Regions from separate parts of the Homo sapiens genome. Here region 1 is linked to region 2. Evidence: promoter capture Hi-C in 16 types of primary human blood cells and fetal thymus (Javierre and others, 2016). All regions are on one chromosome and are shown on one strand. Each heading gives the region's core, a stretch centred on a gene start or on the middle of the fragment in contact. The rest is flanking DNA. Distances are from core to core; before and after follow the strand shown.

Region 1 (5,083 bases), core at 1,019-3,518, 1.4 Mb after region 2:
CCTGTATTTTAGACCTTGAGTAAAACATTCGCATCTGCATTGTTTTCTTTTCTGGAAAAGTGAGGACAAAAGATCTAGTAAAAATGCTATATTTTGAAAGCCTTTACCAGCTGCTTGTAGAAGTACTTCTGAACTAGCTGAACTTTATATATTTTTGTGTTCTTTATAATTTCATTTTTTTTATGGCACACAGAAGGAAAGGAGGAATATGTAAATGTGAATTAGATTTTCATAGGGCTAGACGAAAACTATGAACTGCAGGCAGTTGAGAATCAGTGGGAAAAACTGCCCAATACCCACCTCTTTGGAGAAAATGTTGGTAAGATAGCTGTAATACACCAAGAGGAAGACAGATGCTGGAGTATTTAATTAGCAATTTCTAAGTACATTTGACTCTTGGACAGTACAGGGGTTAGGAACGCTGAGCTCTCGCAGTCAAAAATCCGTTATAAGTTTTGACTCCCCCAAAACTTAATATATCCTAATGCTGACAGGAAGGCTTACTGAGAACATGGACAGTCCTGTGTTGTATGTGTTCTATACTGTATTATTACAATAAAGTAAGCTAGAGAAAATAAAATGGTCTTAAATTATAAGGAAGAGAAAATACATTTACTTTTTAGTAAGTGGAAGTACATCATCATGAAGGTCTTCATTGTCTTCATATTGAGTAGGCTGAGGAGGAGGAGTAAAAGGAGGGGTTGGTCTTGCTGTTTCAGGGGTAGCAGAGGTGGAAGAAGTAGAGGAAGTGGATGGGAAGTCAGGAAAGGCAGGCACACTTGGTGTAACTTTTATTGAAAAAAAGTTGTGTATACGTGGACCTGTGTGGTTCAAACCCTTGTCGTCCAAGGGTTAATTGTATAGGGCCATATAACTGAGAAATCCAAGATAAAACCCAGACATCTCACCACTAAACAACTTACCTATCCTTTAGAGTTGAATGTTTTTGATATAAGGTAAAAATAAATGTCGAAGAGGTAGGTACTGGTAGAGTGCTATCAAAATTGAGATTTTGTTATCTTCAGTGAGCAAAGAGGACTTTGAGGAGGTGAGGCTTTGAGTCTTGAAGGCAAAATGGTTAGAATAGAGTCAGTGATCCTGCTATGTGAGGATACAGCAGCCCCCCCCCCCCACACCCCCTTAGCAGTTTCAATTTCTGCAGTTCCAGTTACTCATGGTCCAAAAATATTAAATGGAAAATTCCAGAAATTAGCAATTCGTAAGTTTTAAATTGTTCGCCCTTCTGGGTAGTAGGATGAAATCTGTCTCGCTCTCTTGCTTAAAACTGGGACATGAATCATCCTTTTGTCCAATGTATCCACACTGTATATGCTAACTTAATTGTTCTATTTTGTTATTGTTCATCTCTTGTTCCCAGTTTATAAATTAAACTTTATCATAGGTATGCATGTATAGGAAAAAAACAGTAAATATAGGATTGGGGCTATCTGCAGTTTCAGGCAGCAGCCGCTGGGGGGTCTTGGAACATTTAGCTCATGGATAAGGGGAGACTATTACATTGCACCAAGAGAAAAACAGTTTCATATATTTGTAGTACATTGGAGAATATAAGCTTCATGAGAGCAGAAGCTTCCTTGTGCTCTCAGCACATAATATGAGTCTGGCATAAAGGCTTTTTATGATTGTTTAATAAATGATTGAATGAATACATACTTGTTTCTCACTCTTCTTTATTTTCATGTGAAGCAGAAGGCCAGATAGTGAAATATTTAGGACCCTGGGCTCTGAATTGGACCTTTCATGACTCGGTCATTTAATACCTCTGTGCAGTCAGAGCAGATTCTTTTACCCTCTTAACCTTTTCTCATGAATAAAATGTTAATACTACCACCAATCTCATCGGGTTAGAAAAATTACATGAGATAATGCATATAAAACACTACGCTCTTCTGGGACAGAGTGAGTACTCCTTAATGTTTTGTGTTTTGAGACAGGGTCTCGCTTTGTCACCTAAGCTGGAGTGCAGTGGCACAATCTTAGCTCATTACAGCCCTGACTTTCTGGGCTCAAGCAATTCTCCCACCTCAGCCCCAGAAGTAGCTGGGACTACAGGTGTGCGCCACCATGTCCGGCTGATTTTTTTTGTATTTTTTGTAGAGATGGGGTTTCACCATGTTACCCAGGCTGGTCTCAAACTCCTGAACTCAAGTGATCTGCCACCTTGGCCTCGCAAAGTGCTGGGATTACAGACATGAGCCACCACCCTTGGCTCTAAATGTTTTTTATTTTGGAAGACTAGCCCATTCTGTATTGGTATGGGATGGGAGGGGGGGGCAGTGAGGGTTTTGAGGAGTAAGGTAAGGACTGGAAATGGTTACTAAGAAACTGATCAAAGGAAAGTACAAGGATTGGTTAAGTGTGGAGGGCCCAACTGAGATTGGAAATCATACCTTAGAGCTAATAATGGGGTCATTCTCAGGGCGAGGAGCGGTAGAAGGCTATGGGAGTAGTATAGACATATTTAGGGGTAGGCTTGTATGTAAATGCCATTTAGAGAAGCACAGATGTGATCGAATAACATTATTCCCTAATTTTGAAACATTTTGTAGTCATCCTTAGCCAGAACCTAGAGAATAGGTGACTTTTTTTCCAGAGTTAGTGATTGACACTGAATTGTATATAGTTGGAGAAATTAGTTTGAAAGAATCAATGATAGAACTGAAGAGAAAATCTTTGAAATAGCTAAAAATGATATCCAAACTAAGGCAGAAAGTGACATCAAAAAGGGTATTACAAAAATTAGAAAGGGCAGAAAGTCTGAGATGATGAAGATTTTAATGGTAATGGTGGAAGGGGTTATCAGTTTTAAGTTGGAATTCTTGGAGATGAGGGGTTATCAGTTTTAAGTTGGAATTCTTGGAGATGAGATACATGATGAAAATTGTCATAATTTGAGGAATAAAGGAATTTTAGGGCTCAAGCTTTTAAAGAGTCATCAGTATGGCATTATATTTGTGTTGAATGACAGCAGAGGAAGAGACAGCAAAAAAAGATTCTTAATCTGTTAAAAAGTAATATGTTTTCAAGAGGTTGATAGACGACGGATCAGCAGACTATAGCCTGGGAATCAGATAGCAGCCTGTTTTTGTGTGGTTTTGGGGCTAAGAATAGTTTGTAACAGAGGAACATTTGCAAACATTAGCAATTATAGAATATTAACTTTATACCCCAATTAAGTGAAATAATTTCTCTTGAAAAAGCATTCTATTCTTATTAATAGACCTGTATTACAAAAACTTTTACTGTTATTATTTCTGTTTCAAAATTTTTAAAAAATTGTGGAAATTTGATTCTCGTTTTTCATGTGAGTACTTATATAGTATTTTCAATTGTTGCTTCTTGATACAAAGTCTGAAGTATTTGCTTTCTGCTTATGAGGCAGAATTGAGAGGCATATGTAGATTTGAGAACAGGACAGTAACACCTGATGGTAGAGGAGCAAGGCTATTGAATCTATTGTGGAGAGAGACGTGGCAAATTAAAAGTTACTAGTGGAGTGGGGAGAGGTAGCGTGCTTGGAAAAGAATGTTTTTATTTAAGATTAGTGTTTCTATAGGGCAAAGTGATGAGAAGTTAAGGTTTTTTAGGTAAATTTTTTATCAGATATGACGTTCATTCATACAAGTACACAAATATAAATGTACTGGTCAATGATACATATTTTTTTCAAAATGAATAGCGAATACATTTATGTGACCACCACTCAGATTAATAAATAAAACATTACAGACATCCTTTTTTTTTTTTTTTTTTTTTTCTTTTTTTTTGAGACAGAGTCTTGCTCTGTGGCCCAGGCTGGAGTGCAGTGGCGCAATCTCGGCTCACTGCAAGTTCCACCTCCTGGGTTCACGTCATTCTCCTGCCTCAGCCTCCCGAGTAGCTGGGACTACAGGCGCCCACCACCACGCCCGGCTAATTTTTTGTATTTTTAGTAGAGACAGGGTTTCACCGTGTTAGCCAGGATGGTCTCGATCTCCTGACCTCGTGATCCGCCTGCCTCGGCCTCCCAAAGTGCTGGGATTACAGGCGTGAGCCACTGCGCCTGGCGACATCCTTAAACCTTCATCTTGACCCCTGTTAGTCACTACTCACACCCCCTAAAGGTAAGCTGTAGTCTGATGATTCATTTTGCCTGTTTTTGATTTTTATATAGGTGGAGTTAAGCATTTACCACCATGTACTGCTTTGTATGACATCTTTCACTCAGCATTGTTTGTGAGTCATCATGTTTTTAGGATAGCAGTAGTAGTTCATTGATTTTTCAGTGCCGAATGTTAATCTATTATGAGTATGCTGTGGTTTGTTTTCTCATTTTAACATTGATAGACTTGGCTATTACAAATAGTGCTCCTGTGTACATTTTTGGAAGTGCACTTTGACTATATGCACCCATTTGTTTTGGATGCCTCGAAACAATTGCTGGATCAAAAAGTATGTTTGGCTTTGGGAGATAAAAATCTTACAAAGTAGTTGTATTCCTGCCAGAAGAGAATAGGTTCCAGTTAGTCTACATCCACACCAACACTGGTATTGTCAGGATTTTTTAGGTTTTTATTGTAATTTTTAGTATGCATTTCCTTATGATTAATGACGTTGAGAACCTTTTCATGTGTCTGTTGGCCATTTGGTTGTCTTCTTTTGCGAAGTGCCTATCTTTTAGCCATTTCAATTGCAAGGTCTGTCTTGTCTTACTCATTTATAGGAGTTCTGCATGTAATTTGGAAGGTTCGATTTTGCTCTCATGGCTAAATACCCTTTGACCACCTTCATCTTTATTTTTTGTGGGCAGTGAAATATTGTGGCATTTTCTTGGATTTTTCTTTCCTTGCAAAATTAAGTTCAGTACAGAAATCTTTTCTTTTGCTGAAGCATTTCTGTCCGTGAATATTTTGTAGAATCTTTACATATTACTCAGTACACTTCATGTTGTTGTGAGTTTGTGTATATGTATCTATTTGCTCCCTGTACTATAGGTTAAATTATGCTTTTTTGGATCCTTTGCAAAGCAAAAGCCTGATCTGACATGGTTGACTTAAAAACTTGGTGCAGGTTGTTTCAGCAA
Region 2 (5,084 bases), core at 2,156-4,655:
ATTTCAAGGTTAAATCCTAAAGCAATTGATATTTTCTAAAAGCCAGAAATACATTAATTTTTAAAGAAGCCAAAAGGTGATAAAACAAGACCATAAAGTAAGTCTTTAAGTAAAAAATGAAAATGATGCATAAGACTATTTTAAAGCAGGGGAAAGAAGACCATATTATGCTGTATTAGATTATATCTCTTTGATGGTATAATCCAAATGTTACAAGACATTTCTTCTAATGACATGAGAAACACTTGAATGAAATTAAGGCGGCATAGATATTATCATCGGTAAAACTTGCCTTTTAGAACAGTGGAAAAACAGGCTTGGGTTCCAAAAGTACAGAGCTAAGAGGCATCTGAACACTAAATCATCAGCCTTTCCCTCTGCTAGGTTGCTATGGCGACAGCAAGGCTACTGCACAGCCTCTCAGTGCCTGCACTTCTGCAGTAAAAGCTGTCACTGAACACATGTTGGATTTTTTAGGCACACACCCAATCATCAGATACAAATACATTGTGGAGGCAGCTTTATCTGAATCATTTTCAAAACAAGTTGTATCTATGTTCTTTATCTTGCACTGATGGGCCCCTTATGGGGTTATAGAATTCACTCATTCAGGCATTAATTCATTTGACAGTTATGTATTGAGTGTCAACTGTATAACAGGAATTGTACTAGGCACTGCCTACAAGCTTTGGTGAAAACAAACAAGTAAATGGGGAATTCTGAGGAGATCATAACAGCTCTCTTGGGGGTAAAAATAAGTGTCCTGGAATCATCAGGGGAGGTTTCCTGGAAGAAGCTGTCTAAAATGAAACAATGTATCTTTAAGAGTTGAGGAGGATAGGTGGATGTAGTGCAAGAAATGTTCTAAACAGAGGCAGGTGCAGCAGTCTCGACGAAAAAGAGAATACAAAACCTCCACCTCCGAGAACTGAAAGTGCTACAGTTTGAGCAGTATCCATTTGTATGTAAGGGAAGAGTGGCAGGGACCAAAGGGACAGGTTAGGGAGGGGAGGGAGTATCTACAAAAGAGAGGAGTGGCAAGAAATGAGATCGGAGAGGTAAACAAGGCGGCCAGATCAGGAAAGCCTTGTGTGCCACATTAAGGAGTTTCAGTATTACCTGGAGGACAATCAGGAAATCATTAATGAGTTTTCACGGAGAAGCATGACTTGATTTAGCTTTTCATAAAGGCTTGTGGAAAAATGGAGACACTGATCGGAGAGAAAGGAATAAGAGGCAAGGCTGAAAGCAAGAGACCTTGAGTTAGACCACTATTGCAATAATCTAGGGTGACTGTGGTTTACACTCTACACGAAGATAATGGAGACAAATAGTGGACAGAAGTAATCAGATTCAAGACCGTTATTACTTGGGTGGCATAGAGATCACTTGGTGGTTTATGCTATGTGTGGGTCAGGTGAATGAGAGAAAAAAGTCCACGATGACACTGAGGTTCTGACTTGGCTAACTCAGTGGAGGGTGTTTCTGCTATTAGGTCCCCAGTGTCAATTCTCAATTCTAAGTAGGGAACTCAGAAGCATCCATTAACTTTAAAAGTTTGTTCTTATCTCACAGTATATGATCCCAGGCTCATAATTTTAGGAATAATAAGTTGTATGAATCATCCTGGACCATCACTTTCCTGAGGTCCATATTTGAAACAGCTGTGGGTGTAGAAAGTATGAATTAATCACCTCTTCTTCCCAAATAAAGAATCTTAAAATTACCAACCTCACTGCTTGAGAGAGCTAAGTAGATTGAAAAGGCATGAAGATTTATGGAGGAAGCTCTCTTTTGGAGTTATAGGAAGAAGGGAAATTGATTCCACTAATCCTCTGGCTTCAGGCTCTCTCTAGACTCACAACATATATTCTTAGGCTTGAGAGTTGAGGACTCAGAAATGCTGTTTGGAGGATGGATGAAAGGGGACAATGACCCTCAGTTTTCGAGGAGCACAGTCCTCCTATGTAGGACACTGGTGCATAAGGATCAGAGTGTCGCACTGCTTGGAATATTCTCCAATTCTGAATAAAGGGTATATAAGTCATTATACATGGTGAATTCCACCACCAGATAAGATTTAAGGGTAGCAATTGTAATAAATCAAGGCCCTTGGCCCAGCTGATGTACCCTATTCTAAGTCCCCAGTTGGACAGATTTTCGAGCTTTCTTAAACAAATTTGTGTGCATCACAAATGCTTTTTCTGCCTGTCATGTAAAAGGCATCAACAAATATTGACTGGATCATCTGGACCTGACTTAGCTGCCCTTTGGAAAGTTCTGTTCAATCAGCTGGATAGAGCTGTTTGTTTTCCTCACCTAACCCTCACAGCTATCCTAGAGGTAGGTATCACTATTATTATCCCTCAATTTAACAAGGGTAAATTTGAAGTTCAGAAGGGTCAAGAACCGTAGGCGTAGGCCACGCATGCAATGGCATCCGCATGTAATTCGAGCACTTTGAGAGGCCTGGACGGGATGATCCCTTGATCCCAGGAGTTAGAGGTTGCAGTGAGCCCTGATCGCGCCACTGTACTACAGCCTGGGCCACAGAACGAGATGCCGTTTCAACAGCAACGGAAAAAAAAAAAAACAAAAAACGAAACAACAACAAAAACTTTAGGCATAAAGGCACTCAGGCTGAAGGGACCGATTGGAGTGCTGGCTTGAACTCGTTTTTCTGAGTTCAATTCCAGTGCTCTTCCCTTAGCAGTGTGCTGGAGCTACTTCCTGGAGCCGGGCAGCTGCAGGGCAGCGCTGGGGAAAAGACTGTTCTCTGGCTACATAGCAGCCTGGCTTCTCCAAGCCGGAGGGAGCTGCGCTGACCACTGAAGGCCTTTCTGATGCAACCCCTTCCAAGTAGAATCCATCGCAGCCTTTCAGATCCCGGAACCCAGAGGCTGTGTCGGTCCTGACGCACTGGCTTGGCTGGGCTCCGGTACGAGAGGGATCTCTGCAGCTCTCGGGCGAGGCAGTTGTGGGGAGCTGTAGGCTGACTTAAGACCTGGAGGCCAAGGAGGGGTGGCCAGGGGAAAACTTTCTCTATTTTGTCTCTCTGTGATGTCGCAGCTTTTCTCAGTCACTCCATCCAACGCCACCCACTTCAAACCTGAGATCAAGTGCAAAAAAAAAAGAGGGTGGGGTCACCCCTGGGCTGGAGATGCCGCTAGCCGCAGCCTGCCTACACCGGGCCGAGCTCCTTGGAGAGGGAGGGACACCGGCTCTGGCTGGGGGGGCGCGGAGTGCCGTGGGGAAATCGGGCGGGTGGGGCGCGCCCAGGCGCGGTCGAGTTGCCCCGAAGGCCGCAGGTGAGGGAGGGCGTGGGAGGCGCCCCAGGAGCTGCCTCTAGCGAGTGCGGCACCACGTGTCCGGCCGGGGCGGGGTCGGGCGTGCCCTCGGAGCCCAGAGCAATCGGCGGCAGTGGCGGCGGCGGCGCGTTGGAGCCTCACCAAGAGCCGCCGCCCGCAGCCCGCGCCGGCTCAGCGCAGTCTCCTCGCTCCGTGCTCGCAGGTGCCTCCTCCTGGACGGCGGCAGCGGCGGCGCGAGGAGCCGGCGGGCAGCGGCGCGATGGGGCCCCTCCGCGAGAGCAAGGTAAGGAGCGCGGGGCAGTGCGGGCACTGGAGGGCGGGGAAGGCGGGCACTGCGGGGCGAGAAGCGGCGGGATGAGAGCTGGAGGGGTGACATTTAGAGTCTGGGGAAAGGTGGAAGGAGGTGGTGGTGGGGTCTGGAGAAGGCAGGAGGCATTGCTTAGGAGTTGAGATCCAGGAGATGGGGAGGTGGTACTGGAGGAATAGATTTTGGAGAATGACATGATTGGAGGGTTAATCCCACCTCCTGAAACTGGGACTGTGGGGTGTAGCTTTCAGTTGATATCCTGTGTGTGTGATGTGAATGAAAGGAATTTGATGCATCCGCGACTGGGAAAAGAGGACTCCCGCGTGTCAGTGACCCTGCCTTAGCTCAGGGTCTGCGGTGTGCCCGGCGGAGTGGCTGGCGCATGGTACCTGCTGGGCGGCAGATGTGCAGGGCGAATCCGAGGCTGCGTGCGGCTGGCGGCCCCCGGGTAGAGTGGATGCCTGAGGGCCCTCCGAAGTTCCCCATTGCTGAGGTTTACCCTTCAATTTATGCCATGTGCCGGCCTCCCAGAGGTGTTTATTTTGGCCGTGACCCTTCCTGGTAAGCCGGTGGAAGGAACAGTAGGTCATGTTTCGAAAGGGTGTTTGTTACCTAAGCCAAAGAGTCCCTTTCAGTGGCAGAGGTTGGAGGAAGCAGTGGAATTTTTGCAAAACGCTCCTCCTAGGAATCCATTTTCATAAGGCAGGGTGGTGGTGACCCTGCAAAGCACTGGATTTGAATTTCGTTCTACTTCTGGCATGGTGTGCAGAATTGCCTAAGCATCTCTACCCCATTTAGCCTGTTTCCTCATCTGAAAATAGGGACATTCATTGGTGTGCTCTCTATGTACAGTCTGGTGTGTAAAGATCAAATGAGAAAATGGTTGGAAAAGCACTTTATAAGTTGGAAAACATTGTGAAAATATTACTGTTACGCATTTTTAAAACCACGAAATGGCAGGGTACTTCATGCTGCGTTTTTAAGGAGAAAGAAAAATCTCTTCTTATGGATGTCCTGTAAGGAAAACAAAAATTAAAGATGATGTAAAAGGTGGAGCCATCTTCCCGAGTATCGGATTTGTGTTTGCTTTTCTGTTGGCAACAAGCCTTGTGTACCAGGATATTAACGAATAATTAAGATCCTGTCCAGAAGAGGAGGGATTTTAAAGATAATTGTGTGTGAGCTATCAGGAAATAACTGTTCCAGGTATAGGGTTCAACTTTGTGAGGAGACAAGAAAACAAGTCAGACTGTCACAGCTAATTTAGGGAAAGCAAAATGGAAGTCTGAAGGCTATCAAGTAAGCCAGAGTGTGGTGTTAATAAAGAGCCTTTGGGAGGCAGAAGCTTGAATGTGATAGAAGTCAGGGTGGGAAGGTGAGTCAGGACCAGCATAGGGAAGTAGGATGGCCTTCCAGCTAGTGAGTGGAGGTGTGTATATGTGTGTGTGTGTGTGTGTGTGTGTGCCACA

Evidence for each region. The method cuts DNA at HindIII sites, captures the fragments that hold promoters and counts their contacts. A CHiCAGO score of 5 or more calls a contact.
Region 1: a fragment that was not itself captured here is called in contact with the fragment with the promoter of SYBU in region 2 in 1 of 17 cell types (total B cells); the score reaches 6.1 in total B cells.

Annotation. Positions count from the first base shown.
Region 1 is chr8:108,242,334-108,247,416 of GRCh38, reverse strand. All of the region lies in intron 1 of EIF3E (eukaryotic translation initiation factor 3 subunit E), which reads left to right. Among named protein-coding and RNA genes, the nearest start is that of EIF3E, 3.8 kb to the left of the region's middle. The HindIII fragment of the contact is 1,352 bases long and covers 1,593-2,944 here.
Region 2 is chr8:109,643,143-109,648,226 of GRCh38, reverse strand. It overlaps SYBU (syntabulin), which reads left to right and starts at 3,405. Exons shown (of 7, transcript NM_001099754.2): 1 at 3,405-3,591. The coding sequence starts at 3,568. SYBU-AS1 (SYBU antisense RNA 1) reads right to left here and starts at 4,098. Exons shown (of 2, transcript NR_161375.1): 1 at 4,005-4,098; 2 at 1-3,109. RefSeq lists enhancers at 2,721-3,040, 2,702-3,638 and a silencer at 3,151-3,640. The HindIII fragment of the contact is 4,274 bases long and covers 689-4,962 here.